Linked DNA regions of Homo sapiens: region 2 is linked to region 1. Evidence: promoter capture Hi-C in human tissues and cell types (Jung and others, 2019). All regions are on one chromosome and are shown on one strand. Each heading gives the region's core, a stretch centred on a gene start or on the middle of the fragment in contact. The rest is flanking DNA. Distances are from core to core; before and after follow the strand shown. Region 1 holds the start of TXNDC2 (thioredoxin domain containing 2). Region 2 overlaps RAB31 (RAB31, member RAS oncogene family).

The links. Contacts are between HindIII fragments. The study calls those that stand out against the background at their distance.
Region 2: a fragment that was not itself captured here is called in contact with the fragment with the promoter of TXNDC2 in region 1 in 5 of the 25 tissues and cell types used here (adrenal gland, dorsolateral prefrontal cortex, heart left ventricle and 2 more).

The regions. Positions count from the first base shown.
Region 1 is chr18:9,882,936-9,890,637 of GRCh38, forward strand. TXNDC2 (thioredoxin domain containing 2) reads left to right here and starts at 3,038. Exons shown (of 2, transcript NM_032243.6): 1 at 3,038-3,145; 2 at 3,654-6,340. The coding sequence starts at 3,746. The coding sequence ends at 5,206. The HindIII fragment of the contact is 24,551 bases long and covers 1-7,702 here.
Region 2 is chr18:9,841,273-9,848,974 of GRCh38, forward strand. RAB31 (RAB31, member RAS oncogene family) reads left to right here. Exons shown (of 7, transcript NM_006868.4): 6 at 4,310-4,419. It also overlaps the pseudogene RNA5SP449. Among named protein-coding and RNA genes, the nearest start is that of TXNDC2, 41 kb to the right of the region's middle. The HindIII fragment of the contact is 5,768 bases long and covers 770-6,537 here.

The sequences.
Region 1 (7,702 bases), core at 1,788-4,287:
AAGTGCCAAACCTAAAACACAACGAAGATCTCCAAGTATAAATGTAACAGGATCACAGATTTCCTCTCTTTTACTAAGACATTCAGGTACAATATCACTTATACATTTCTCTAGAATGGCTCATCCTTCCCATGAGCCTTATCTCAATGGGTTTTGGGGTGGGATGGTGAGGAGCAGGGAAACCGAATTAAGTTTGCCTGTTTGTGGAATTTTGGCTCAAAGAACCCTTTTCCATGGTGTAGCGGTGCAATCTTTCAGAGTTCTCACTTTGTCCATAGTGTCTGGATGCCCAGGGCTACACGGATAAACGTGCCGGGTGCTCTGGTCCCGTGCTGGTTTCCCATGTGAATTGGCTGGTCTGGCCTGGTCCCCAGCCTGAGATCTCTTGAAGGACCCACTGATTCCATTTAGGACAGGGGCATCGTGATGTTACTCACTGCTGGAGTCTGTGATTCCAGTCCTTGCCTCTGGTCACAGATCCTCCTCCTCTGAGTCTTCTTCCTCTAGGCCTCTATCTTTCACCAGTCTCAGAGCACTCCCAGCCACTCTCTGAGGTGTACATCGTTGCTAGATCTTTAACCTCCTCCCTGCAGGCTGTGGGGCCTGCCCCAGGTCCACACATCCATTCTTACCCTCTACTAGGGGCCACGCTGCACGAGGACAGTGCTGTGTTGGATGTGAAGTCCACGTGGGCTCATCCTGGCCTTCCAAGTGGAGCAGGAGGCAGATGCCCCTCTGCTTTCAGCTGCAAGTCTTTTTTTATCTTTTTTTTTTTTCTTTTTTTGAGAGAGTCTTGCTCTGTTGCTCAGGCTAGAGTGCAGTGGCACCATCTCCGCTCACTGCAACCTCTGCTTCCCAGGTTCAAGCGATTCTCCTGCCTCAGCCTCCTGAGTAGCTGGGATTACAGACATTTGTCACCACATCCGGCTAACTTTCGTATTTTTAGTAGAGATCTAAAATCGCATTTTTAGTAGAGTAGCACATCTGATTAGTATCTGTGCTGGCAATCAACCTGGAGAAAGGAGGCCGGGACACAGGCATCTGTCCTCTTGCCTCCACATCTACTGGGATGGCAGGAGTGATGTTTTCACTTCTGCCTCTCAGCGATGGAGTTCCTCTGTGTCCTCATCCACTCCCTTCCAAACAGCAGGGACCCTGTACAAGATAGGGTCCCAGGAAGTAAATTAACTTACCAATGAGCAAGGGCCAAAGATGCTGCCCACTTTGTGCTAATAAAATCTGCTCATGATGGTTTCTGCAAATGATGCCTATCCTCCCCGCTTCACCTCCTTTCTCCTAACACTAAGAAAGAAGACATTGCCCAGATAAGTGCCTGACGTTTATTTTCATCCTCTGCTTTAAAATAGGGCACCATGAAAAACAGTCCTGTCAGCTGTGGAAGCCGTTGGCATTGGAGAGTGAAGACAACCTCCCGTCCTTTAAAATATCACATAAGAAAGGCCCAAAGTCTCCCAGTGAGAGAGGGAAGAGCTTTCTTTGGCAGTAACCGAGGAAACGGAGTGGAAGCATGAGCTCTTCCTGGAACAGGATTCATATCATCAAGAACTACGGATTTGCTGGGCCAGGCATGGTGGCTCACGCCTGTAATCCCAGCAATTTGGGAGGCTGAGGCAGGTGGATCGTTTGAGGTCAGGAGTTAGAGACCAGCCTTGCTAACATGGTGAAACCCTGTCTCGACTAAAAAAAATACAAAAATTAGCCGGGTGTGGTGGTGAATGCCTGTAATCCCAGCTACTCGAGAGGGTGAGGCAAGAGAATTGCTTGAACCTGGGAGATAGAGGTTGCAGTGAGTCGAGATTGTGCCACTGCACTCCAGCCTCGGTGACAGGGCAAGACTGTCTCAAAGAAAAAAAAAAAAGGAACTATGGATTTGCTAAGGCCAATAGTCTCTCTACCCCTTAGTAAAATGTGTTTTGGTATAAAAATCCAGATAATTGAACCATTGCCATTAGATGTTTCGAGGTTTCTATTGACAATGTGGAGGTCTTATCATTTAGATTTCAACACTTTTATTTTTAGTTTTTAGAGACGGGGCCTTGCTCTGTTGCCCAGGCTAGAGTACGATGTAGTGATCACGGCTCACTGCAGTCTTGAACTCACTGGCTCAAGCAAGCCTCCCACCTCAGCTTCCCAAGTAGCTGGGACAGGCGTGTGCCACTGTGCCTGGCTAGGTTTTGTATTTTTTGTAGAGATGGGGTCTTGCTATGTTGCCTAGGCTGATCTCAAACTCCTGGGCTCAAGAAATCCTCCCACCTTGGCCTCCCAAAGTACTGAGATCACGGTGTGAGCCACCATGCCTGACCACTTTCAACACTTATATTGTTGGGGTGAAACTGAAACATATGAGGATTTGTTCAAAGTACATGTAGAGAAGGCAAAATTCCACACTGATTCTTCCTGCCTTGGACTGGATGTGTTGTGCAGAGTGAGGGTGGAAAATGAGCCAGTGGTCCTGAACTAATAAAATAAGTCTCCCTGGGGGACAGGTATTTGGCTTCCCATTCCACAGGATGGGGTAGATGTGGCTTATGGAACCAGGATTATTCACAAAGAGGTTGTTCTCCTGTATGTAAAGGCTGGAAGAGCCGTGTACTTGGATGTGTCTGCATGGGGGAGGGCACAGGCTGGGCTGGTGCGCCTGGGAGGTGGGGGAGGTGGGGAAAGAGGCTGTCTAGCAGGAGCTGAACATTTGACATTGTGGGACACTTTGCAGAGGAGGCTAACATGGTTTCGAGGAGATACTTAGGAGCTGGTCACAATGGGTGAGTCGTAAAGAGAATGTTGGAGCTGGGGGATCCTGGAGAAAGATGATAAGATGGTTGATTCACAGAACCCAGGCTGGACGGGACTTGTGGCGAGCAGTCCAGCACAGCCTCACAGTGCAGAGCATGAGCTTTGGAGCCTGCCCCCACCCTAGCTTTGTGACCTTAAGTGAGCTACATAGCTTCTCATGTGTAAACTACTCATCATAATGGTTCTGACCTCAGTGGTTTGTTGTGTTCTAGGAAATGATGCCAGTGAATGCGTAGTCCCAGCCTCAGCACAGGGGAGCCACCTTGAAGCTCTCAAATATCACTGTTGTGAATACAGAGAGGGAAAACCAACTGTAACGTGCCACCCAAATGTAAGTTTTACTCATATTTTGATGTTAGGATGGATAGCTTGGAAAAAGTTGGAGGGTACGGCCTTTACTATGAGGCATCTATGAAGGATCAGGAATGGATGTAGACAAGGAACTAGGAATGGAAAGTGTTAAAGCTGGAGCCTCTGGAAAACCAGAAATGAGGCTGGGCACTCAGGAAGAAACAAGTGAAGGTGATGCTAATGGTAAGTAGGGGAGGAAAGAGGGTTGCCTTAAAGACCTATGCAGTTAGGGAGCGGGCAGGGTGTTGAACCAAGAAGGGAAAGTTGTAGCTTAAGAACATGTATACAGAAGATACGTGTAACCACACGCTGTTTGTCCTTCTGCTGAATGAGTTTTTCAGATTAATACATCATTCATCAGACTTCATTCGTGATCTCGAAGAGTGACATCAGTCTTCCTTGGAATATGAAGAGAATTTCTTTGGTTCTTCTTTTGCATTTCTATTTGATTTATTTTATTTTATTTTATTTTATGTTTTTTGGTACAGAAAGCTCATTACTAGTCCTGTCCAGCAACGTGCCTCTCCTGGCCCTAGAGTTCTTGGAAATAGCCCAGGCCAAAGAGAAGGCCTTTCTCCCCATGGTCAGCCACACGTTCCACATGCGCACAGAGGAGTCTGATGCCTCACAGGAGGGCGATGACCTACCCAAGTCCTCAGCAAACACCAGCCATCCCAAGCAGGATGACAGCCCCAAGTCCTCAGAAGAAACCATCCAGCCCAAGGAGGGTGACATCCCCAAGGCCCCAGAAGAAACCATCCAATCCAAGAAGGAGGACCTCCCCAAGTCCTCAGAAAAAGCCATCCAGCCCAAAGAGAGTAACATCCCCAAGTCCTCAGCAAAACCCATCCAGCCCAAGCTGGGCAATATTCCCAAGGCCTCAGTGAAGCCCAGCCAGCCCAAGGAGGGTGACATCCCCAAGGCCCCAGAAGAAACCATCCAATCCAAGAAGGAGGACCTCCCCAAGTCCTCAGAAGAAGCCATCCAGCCCAAAGAGGGTGACATCCCCAAGTCCTCAGCAAAACCCATCCAGCCCAAGCTGGGCAATATTGCCAAGACCTCAGTGAAGCCCAGCCAGCCCAAGGAGAGTGATATCCCCAAGTCCCCAGAAGAAACCATCCAGCCCAAGGAGGGTGACATCCCCAAGTCCTCAGCAAAGCCCATCCAGCCCAAGCTGGGCAATATTCCCAAGGCCTCAGTGAAGCCCAGCCAGCCCAAGGAGGGTGACATCTCCAAGTCCCCAGAAGAAGCCATCCAGCCCAAGGAGGGTGACCTCCCCAAGTCCCTAGAGGAAGCCATCCAGCCCAAGGAGGGTGACATCCCCAAGTCCCCAGAAGAAGCCATCCAGCCCAAGGAGGGTGACATCCCCAAGTCCCTAGAGGAAGCCATCCAGCCTAAGGAGGGTGACATCCCCAAGTCCCCAGAAGAAACCATCCAGCCCAAGAAGGGTGACATCCCCAAGTCCCCAGAAGAAGCCATCCAGCCCAAGGAGGGTGACATTCCCAAGTCTCCAAAACAAGCCATCCAGCCCAAGGAGGGTGACATTCCCAAGTCCCTAGAGGAAGCCATCCCACCCAAGGAGATTGACATCCCCAAGTCCCCAGAAGAAACCATCCAGCCCAAGGAGGATGACAGCCCCAAGTCCCTAGAAGAAGCCACCCCATCCAAGGAGGGTGACATCCTAAAGCCTGAAGAAGAAACAATGGAGTTCCCGGAGGGGGACAAGGTGAAAGTGATCCTGAGCAAGGAGGACTTTGAGGCATCACTGAAGGAGGCCGGGGAGAGGCTGGTGGCTGTGGACTTCTCGGCCACGTGGTGTGGGCCCTGCAGGACCATCAGACCATTCTTCCATGCCCTGTCTGTGAAGCATGAGGATGTGGTGTTCCTGGAGGTGGACGCTGACAACTGTGAGGAGGTGGTGAGAGAGTGCGCCATCATGTGTGTCCCAACCTTTCAGTTTTATAAAAAAGAAGAAAAGGTGGATGAACTTTGCGGCGCCCTTAAGGAAAAACTTGAAGCAGTCATTGCAGAATTAAAGTAAACATGTATTCTGAAAACATTGCAGACAGTCAGGTGTTTATAGCTTTTGAGTTCTCTTTTATTATTTACACAAAGTGATCAGGTATAACAAAAGTGTATGTCCAAATGGCACTGCTTGTACATGATAATATTAACTCTACCCTTTTCAAAAAACAGTCCAAGCATTAAAGTACATTGCGACTGTGTTTCTGTTAGTGGGAGAGTATAAAATTAGAAATTCCCATGGTGAAGACTGCTAAGTCCCATGGTTTCCTATTTTTCAATCTTGATATGTATTTATTTTTCACTTGTCTTTGAAAATTTCACGCATTTAGTGTTTGCAGCAAGACTGAAAATTTAGATAATTTTTCTATAGAGGTAGATGACTGAAAGGTGAATGGAAACTTCTTTTCTCATGTCACACATCTTTGGGGATTCTGATAAGATATGTTTGGAAATAAGGAATTTGAAAGATTCACATCTTAGCTAACCTCCTTCTTGTGCCGGAAGTGCTACGGAGGCCTTGGGAAATTCAGTGGGTTTTCCAAGATCTGATTTGTTGGTGACGGAAATGAGATCAAGGCCGCTTCCAGATTTCAAGTCCAGGGCTCTACCTACTATAATCTACGCTCACAAAATCTCAGACAAGAGGTCGGAACTTCAGGTTTCTCGGAGGTTGAAGTCCTCTGGATCTTTGCTGCCTTTATGACATCAGTGCCCTGATGGCAGAGTTCCTGGTTCGTCTCCCTGGTAATTGAGTTCATAATACCTAGACCTTCCTCTGACTTTTTTACTTAAATTTGTTCTTATTTTCAATATTGAACAAGCCAGCCTTTAACATGACTCTACCAGCTTAGACATATAGGCCTAGACTTTAATGAATTAACCTAATCACAGTGCTACCAGAGTCTTGTTTGGACAACTTAGTGAGCCCCAGATGTCTATGAGCCCAAAGTCCCAGGTCTGAACCATAGACAGAGGCTTAGTCCAGAGTGGGTTTTTAAAAATGAATAAAACCAGCTTCATTAGGTATAATTGATATACAAAGAACAGCACATATTTAATGGAGGGAGTTGGATGAGTTTGGATGTGTTGCATATGCCCTTGATTGCCATCTCCACCATCAAAGTAATTAACACCTTCATTGCCTCCAGAAGTTTCCTTGTGTCACTGTGCTTTATTGTTATTACTATCATGGTAAAAGCACTTAACAGATCTACTCTCCTAACACATTTTTAAGTGCCCAGTACTGTACTGTTAACTAGGGGCATGATGCCGCACAGCAGATCTGTGGAACTTACTCATCGGTGTGGCTGAAATTTAACACCCATCGAACAACTCCCCGTTGCCCCTTCCCCCACCCTCTGGCAGTCACCATTCTACTTTTTGCTGGTCCAGAGTGTTTTTAAAAATTTGAATTTGTTGCCAACATTTCAAATATCAGGATTTAAAAAAAAAATCTAGATGTCTAGCTTTTCTTGAAAAATTGTAAGATCTGGCAATCCAGGCTTGCCTTACCTCAAGAAAACCAATCTAACCTTCGGGTCTGAGCGGCAGCTGCCTCCATCTGATAGGGCGCACTCTCTCCAGTCTTCTGCTGCAGAACCTGGCTGGCTTCTTCACTTAGCCAGCTGAGTTGCAATCCCTATCTTAAGTTCAAGACTGGGACTGGGCGCGGTGGCTCACACCTGTAATCCCAGCACTTTGGGAGGCCAAGGTGGGTGGATCACCTGAGGTCAGGAGTTCGAGATCAACCTGGCCAACATGGTGAAACCCTGTCTCTACTAAAAATACAAAAGTTAGCCGGGTGTGGTGGCAGGTACCTGTAATCCTAGCTACTCAGGAGGCTGAGGAGGCAGGAGAATCACTTGAACCGGGGAGGCAGAGGTTGCAGTGAGCTGAGATCGTGCCCCTGCACTCCAGCCTAGGTGATAGAGTGAGACTGTGTCTCAAAAAAAAAAAAAAAAAAAAAGAGGACCAAGACTGCCCCATCTCCTTCCATCATGTGCCTATCGTGACTCTCCTTAGTGGTACCTCAGTTATAGGCTTCATTTGCACCCTTAACAATGGCCTAACAACTGCAAACAAAATGAAATACCTTATATGCTTGGCCTTTTTTCCAAAAAAATTTGGAATTGCCTACAAAAGGATTAATGATAAAGCTAACGAACCAGAAAGAGGAATCAGAGCCATGAAGTGAGTAACGTGTCAACTCTGTGGGCTCGTATCATGGCTCTGTTAGAGCAGCAAATTTTGTTCTGAACTCTTGGCAAGTGAGAGAGAAGAGATAAATTCAATAATACCCAGATGTCATCACCCAAAATAAGCAGGCTTAGGAATTTGCAAAAGAGTCAAAGCTTTTCCTTAACTAAATTCCTGAATGACATTTCTCATCTTGGACACTACATTTGAGACTTCGATGATAAACGAAGTTCTTGACAAGATTTTTCTATAATAAATTCAGGACAGTTTTTCATGTGGATATTCTTGGTAAGACTCTTCAGTAAAAGCTGAAGCC
Region 2 (7,702 bases), core at 2,404-4,903, 41 kb before region 1:
CTCACACCTGTAATCCCAGCACTTTGGGAGACTGAGGCGGGTGGATCACGAGGTCAGGAGATCAAGACCATCCTGGCTAACATGGTGAAACCCCGTCTCTACTGAAAATACAAAAAGTTAGCCGAGCGTGGTGGCAGGCGCCTGTAGTCCCAGCTATTCCGGAGGCTGAGGCAGGAGAATGGCGTGAACCCGGGAGGCAGAGCTTGCAGTGAGCCGAGATGGCGCCACTGCACTCCAGCCTGGGCGATAGAGTGAGACTCTGTCTCAAAAAAAAAAAAAAAAAAAAATCTCAATTGGCTTTATTCATGATTCTAGAACTGGCAACAAATCATTCCATAAAATAGAATAAGTGTTCCCATGGGCTGAGCAGAGGGGATTGGCTTTATAGACAGAGAAGGGCTGAAGAAAGCAGGAACAAGGAACAGTAGCCTGCTAGTCGTTTCAAAGATACTTTTCTTGGGGGACAGGCAGAGGGAGGGACGGGGAAACAGAACGATGGAATATCAGATGAGTTAACATGTCATGTAAGGATTAAAGCCAAGGGAACTGCATTCCATGGCTACTGAAGATTTCAGCTGGCCTATTTGGGAAATTGGCTGTTACCTCTTGTGACTTCTCAGAAGGTCAGATAACTACTTAGTTTGGGTTTGGTGAAGGGGAACTTAAGCATGGGTGACTACTTTTATTTTCAGTCTGGTCTCATGGGGCCTAATGCAGGAGCTTAGGCCCGAAACAAAGGCCTCCTATAATATTAATTTGACATACAGTTCTGTTGTTATGGACACAACTCAGGAGTAGCTAAATGGAAGAGATAGTGAGGGCGAGGGGTGGGAGTGGGACAAGGAGCTTCCAGCCTCTCAGGGGTAGCACTCCCAGCACACCAGTGTGCTCAGCAGCCCGGACCCTCTCAAGCCTTGTGTTCAATAGTTCGTATTGAGGCTTCATTACTTAGATGACTAATGAAGATTGATTAAATCTCCAGCCCCAGAGGCTGGCGTTGGGGCTGAAAGATTCAACCCTCTAACCATGTGGTTGATTCCTCCAGCAACCAGGCTCATCCTGAAGAGGCCACAGGATGGTCTAGGGCCACACGCTATCAAACTCAGTCATGGCTGAAGGGGCTCTTCAAGAATACCAGAAGACACTCCTATCACCCAGGAAACTCTGAGGGTTTGGGGAGAACTGTGCCGGGAACCAGGGCAAAGACCGAATCTGTATTTTTTTATTATGCCACAGTAATGGGAGCATATTTTGGCAGACTCAAGAGTGATTGGTCGTTCTAATCTTAGTTCACATTGGAGGGACTTTCACTGGCCCTCCAGATTCTTCCTGTAAGCACCTGTTCTTTAGGAGGATGGAGTAGGCTCCTGCCCCGCCCCACCCCAACTGCAGTGCATGTGACAGTTTGAAACACTTTGAGCCCCACATGTGTCTGTCAAGATGGAAATAACAGCCTCTGGCATGTGGTGCTGGTGGGTGCTTGTGCCATTGCAGCCCTGTAGGAGTGAGGTGGACAGAGTCACGGGTTTGGGTTAAGCCCTGTCTCACCTCTCATTAGGCATGTCACTTCGGCAGGCCGATGATTTAATGAGACTCACCTCTAGCCATGGAAGGAGTCTGAGGGTGTGCTTTTCTTATCTTCCCATCTCCATATTTATGTTGTAGACTGTGAAGGAATTAGCCTCTTGGCCATGGTCATCCTAAGGATGGAGATGTTGGGCTGTGGTACATGATAACTGTTCTTTTGTAAGCCTAGTGAACCTGTGCCGCTCCTTCTTGTCCTGCAGTTGGACTGATTAGAGGGGCTGAGGAAGTGCTTCACCTGTGAATGTGATTTCCTCTCACCTGCGGGCCCAGAGGCATCCTTGCTTGCCAGGTGCTCCTCACCCCACCCCCAGTAGGGTAGCAGGTGACATCTCCTCCTGCACCCCATTGTGGGCAGAGATGAGCCCCACCCTTTATCTGTGCTTTGATAAAGACTTCAGGAAGAGGCTGGGCGCAGTGGTGCAAGCCTGTAATCCCAGCACTTTGGGAGGCTGAGGCAGGCGGATTACTTGAGGCCAAGAGTTCAAGACCAGACTGGGCAACGTGGCGAAACCCCGTCTTTACCAAAAAATACAAAAATTAGCCAGGTGTGGTGGTGCGCACCTGTAATCCCACCTACTCAGGAGGCTGAGGCACAAGAATTGCTTGAACCCGGGAGGCGGAGGTTGCAGTGAGCCGAGATCATGCCACTGCACTCCAGCCTGGGCGACAGAGCAAGACACTGTCAAAAAAAAAAAAAAAAAAAAAACTTCAGGAGGAAGTAAAAAACAAGGTATCATGCCAAACTGCACAGAGAAAAGCACTTTTCTGTAATCTTTCAAATATAAAATTCTGTTGCCAGAAAAACTCCAGCATAATCCCTGTGACAGGCCTGGGTCTTGTCTGTTACAAACAAGAGAGTGAATGTCGGGGTGTACTTTTCCCTGCAGTTTGGAAGCACAGGTGCCCACTGACTTGGCTCCAGGGACATATTTCTTTTGGCTGAGAGGCTGGGGCCATCGCCTTTAACATGGTAGACCCTAGTCAGGCGCTTTTCCAGCTAGGACTGAAGGGTCTTCCCCGCATATGGTTTGAGTCCCATAGGAATTTGAATGCCAAAGTAGAATTTCCTTGGTAACTTTAAACCTCTTGAAGCCATTTACAGGCTCTGGGGCAGGTGGAGGAAGGGGCGGGGAGGTGGGCGCTCTCCCATCACTCTCTGTCCCTGTTTTGATTTTGTGTCTTCCTTCTCTTTTCCAATAGCAATCCTTCTGGTCGAGGATTGTGATACTCTTGCCTGCAGCATTAGAGGAGCTTCCAGATTCTTCTCCTCACCTCCATCCATTCTATGCACCATTTTTTCCTAGACTGTGGAGCTGACCCTGTCACTTCCTGTCCTTCAGTGGCCTCTGGGTATAGACAGACATGGTGTGCCTCCCTCTCTCAGCTCCAACCTCTCTGACATTCTCTCCATTCGGGCCCGTGTCATTCATTTGCAAATCCGCCATAACATCCCCAGCAGTGCTGGGTGCAGAATCAACTTTTAATAATCTCCGGGAATGTGTGCACTCTCCTGTCTCTGGGCCTCTGCTCAGGCTGTCCCATCCCAGAGTCTGACCTGCATTTGCCTAGCCTTCATGGCCACACTTAAGGTGACCACCTCTGGGCATCTTCCTGGGGTCTATTGAACAGAACACATCACTTCCTGCCCCTCTGCTCCTGAAGCACTTTATGTCGCAGTGTTGTGGATTAGAGTGCCCCTGGATGAGCCCTGTTTGTCTGTGTTCTAAAGCACAGGTGCCAGAAGGCAGAACCTGTGTTTTCTCTGGCCCCTGGGAGAGGGACTGGCATGCAGCAGCTGCTGGAGAATAGGAACTGCATCTTTTTTATCTTTGGATCCACCACAGCATTTTCACATTGAAAAGAGGTCAGTAGGTTTTTTTAGGGTGGTATGGCCGTAGACCCCATCCAAGTACTAGCCAGGCCTGACCCTGCCTAGCTTCCAAGATCAGATGAAATCAGGTGCGTTCAGGTGAGTTTTGTTTTGTTTTGTTTTGTTTTGTTTTGTTTTGTTTTGTTTTGTTTGAGACGGAGTCTTGCTCTGTCACCCAGGCTGGAGTGCAGTGGTGTAATCTCGGCTCACTGCAAGCTCTGCTTCCTGGGTTCACGCCATTCTCCTGCCTCAGCCTCCCGAGGAGATTTTTTTAATTGTTCATTTAAATAGAGTTCATGCCCTAAAACCTTTGCGAGAACATCCTTTTACAGATGAAAGTCCAGATATGCCATCCTGTATTGTAGCCATGGTCGGTATAACCATGCTCGTTTCCAAACTGTCACAGCACATTGCATATTTTCTCTGATTTGTGAAAGATAATATGTAAAAAGTTTCACAAAAGCATGTGTGCACAAACATACTAACAGAGGTTTGGTGTTTTTTAATATTGAGTCATGTAATGGGGAAAAAAGTTGAAATCAGCTGTAGCTCTGAAAGCTGAAATGTGTACTGCCATATTTGTCATGGTTTTCCCTGCTGTTCTGGAATTCTTCTGTGGGAGCAGGAACACTATTTTATATATGCATATCTTCTCTTCATGAATGCCAGAGACTGGGTTTTAAACTTTAAAAAGTCTCACTCATACTAGGTGTCCATTCTTGCTGAGTGATTGAATTATTATTCTACAAGAAGATAAAGGAGCTGTTGCCGCACAAGCTGTCTGGTCTTTTGGGTGATTTGTATTTTACAAACAAACATTCATTTCCTGTCTACATTTGACCTCTTTTCCAGGGAGGTTCCCCTGAAGGATGCTAAGGAATACGCTGAATCCATAGGTGCCATCGTGGTTGAGACAAGTGCAAAAAATGCTATTAATATCGAAGAGCTCTTTCAAGGAATCAGTAAGTACCTGAAATTGGGTTTTCAGCCCAACTTGCATTTTTATGCTTCTGGGAGTCAAAGGATAACATTTTAGAACTCTGAAGTGAACTTTTCCTCTGTGTGAATTTATCGGATGCCATGGATACAAAATCTACAGCTATGCAGTTGTTAATACCCACTTCTATTATCCTCTCGATTCTAGATTTCCATGATTCTGTACTGGAACCTGTTCACTCTGAGTTCTGTAAATTAAAATGAAGTAATCCTGTTGCAAAAATAAAATTTATTTTAATTGAAAATTATGCATTCTGTAGCATTTTATGTTAGGAGGAGAGAGAAAATAGACAAGGTATAGAACTCAAGGTCACCCATTAGATGGGATGACTCTAGGTAAACTGAGGGAACCTTCCAGTAACTTTTTTTGCCTGATCATCTCCTACAAAAAGTAATGTCTCCATCCTGTTTGACCTGAAATTGGGAATTGGATACAGGGTTGGCGTGTACAGGTACCCCATGTGTCTGGTGAGCTAATTAGGGAGGGTGACAGCCTCCTTCCTGGTCCCAGTGCTGGGTCCCGTTATGCTCACTGTATGCCGGCTCCCCGGGAATAACCTTATCAACCAGAGCTGGTTCCCAGCTAATGGCTCTGCCAACACATCTATCTGCAGCTGTGAGGCTTCCAGCTCAACAGATTTAACCTTCATAAGTTCTCTGGTTGTGTCATTCTGTTCCGGATTCTGCCAGAGAAGTCCCTGCTGACAGCCATCTGGGAAAACTGCTCTGAGACACCCTCAGGAAAGTTCGACCGGAGCATTATCAGGGACGTTGGGAGAAGTACAGGTGTTTGATGAAATACTGGCCCTGAAGTTCCTGGAATAGCCACCTTAGGAGGAGTTGAACCCCAAAACAGTAATTGTCCTCAAATATCTTAGCTCCAGACAACTCCAGAAGGGAAACTGATGGTTTGATCTCTTTCCTGCCTGAGATCGTTTTTGGCAGAGCTCTCAAAGTCAGAGAAGCCGTGGCTTCCCAGAACAGTTTTGATTTCTGTTTAACTGGTTTGAGTGCATTACTTTAGACTCCAAGAACCCACAGGAGGGAATCTTTTGTTTATGTTGGCTTGATGGAGAATTCATTGGAGATGGGGAATTCTGACCTGTCTTACCTACACTATGCAGAGATATGCAAAAGAAATGTGCAAAAGAATGGCTTGGAGCCTCCCCTCCCCAGCTGCTGGCCCTTTCCTTCACTGGGGTCTTCACTCTCTTCCCTTCTTTCCACCTTCCCTTTCTTTCCTCCTTTGATTTCTTACTCTCAACAGAATGGTTTCAGGCTCCTTGCCCTGAATGGCTGAACTCTAGCAGGCTGGGGCTGGAATTTCATGTGGGAAACCCCATGTCCCCACATTCCTCTCCCTTCTCCATCATGGTCAGTGGGTGCAGATGCTCTCTGGTGTTGTGTCACTCTGGGTGACATCTAAGTTTGGGCTCGAACTCATTACATTAGCCTCACATTTCCTCAGATTAAACTCATTCTCTTCTGGTGGCGTTAGGCTCTTCTGCTATGCTCAGCTATGAAACATTTTGTTTTTACAGGTGGTTTTAATGAATGAAGCTAGATAGCTCCTGAGGACGATTGCCTTAGCACCTTCCATCCTTACAGCCCCGCGTCTTCCGCAGAGCCCCCTCCTCCTCCTTAGCTCCCTGGCCTTGGAAGACCCCCAGCACAGATATCAGTGGTCAGCCAGGGGAGCCTGGTGCCTTGTATGACCTGAACTTGAGCTTGAGATCTCTGCACCAGCTGGGAAGCTTTCTGAAGTTTATGAAAGTCATTGTTAAAATTTAAAAATATCAAATAAGGACCTGAAAGAGAAGAAGCCTGAGTAGGAAGTACTGTACTAATATCTTTTTTCTTTTTTTTTCTGAGACAGAGTCTTTGTTGCTCAGGCTGGAGTGCAGTAGTGCAATCATAGCTCGCTGCAGCCTCCACCTCCTGGGCTCAAGCAATCCTCCGACCTCAGCCACCTGGGTAGCTGGGACTATAGGTGTGCACCACCACACTCAGCTAAATTTTTGGATTTTTAGTAGAATCAAGGTCTCGCCATGTTGCCTAGGCTGGTCTCAATCTCCTGAGCTCAAGCAATCTTCCCCCATCGGCCTCCCAAAGTGCCAGGATTACAGGTGTGAGCCACCACACATGGCTTGTAGTAATAACTTAAAAGACATTTATCCAGTATAAATCCCTTCCTGTGTGTGACAGGGACTTTGAACAGGTTAATTCCTCAGATCTTGGTGGTCTACTTTATGAAAAAACAAGTGCTTTGCTCAAACATGGGTAATTATGGTTTCAAAGTAATTAATTCCTATATAAGCCATCAAATACCCATATCACCTCATCTTTCATGTCACATAAACAATTGTTTGTTTCTGTTTTATTATACTTTGGTTGTAACTGCCTTGACAAAGAAAGCTTGTAAATACACAGCCATGGCAAAACCTCAGTCTGTCCATCTGTCTGGCTATCCATCTGTCTGTCTATCCATCTTTCCCTCCATCTGTCTGTCCATCTGTCCACTTGGCTGTCTATCTGTCCATCTGCCTGTCTGTCTCTGTCTGTCCTTCTGTCCATCTGTGTGTATATCCATCTTTCTAGCTGTCCATCTGTCTATCCATCTGTCCGTCTATCTATCTATTCATCTGTACATCTGTCTGTCTAGTCATCTGTCTATCTAGCCATCCGTCTGTCTGTCCATCTGTCCATCTGTCCGCCTGTCTATCTGCATGTGTAAGCACTGGATCTTTTGCCTCTTTTCTCCTTCATGTGAATTTCTTCAGAATGGAGTTCTGTAGCCTAATTGCAGGTTAATTTAAAACACAATTCCAAGTACACCTAAATATACTGCAGCAGACTTTTCATTTATTTTTCTTTTCCCTGTTCCTACTTACATTACATGTGCTCCTCCCTGAGCTTAAAATAGAACTACATATTGCTGACACCTAGGCTCCCCAAAGCAATGTTCCACAGTCGACTATGCCTGGAGAAAAAATGCAATAAAAAGTTAAGGAGCTGTGAAAATAAAAGCCCTTTAAAAAGGTGTGTTTAAACAAAATGAATTCACATTGACTCGGATGAAGAGATGAATGTTTCTCTTTTACAGTCCCATAGTGTTCATAAACCAGAAATGGGACAACTGTGTTTTCTGAACATTGGCAAATACAGTGTCTAACTGGAGACTGCTTACAAAAATATGTTATCTTTTTAAAGACTGAAGCTACCCTGTAAAGGATTTAGGTGCTGCTCTGT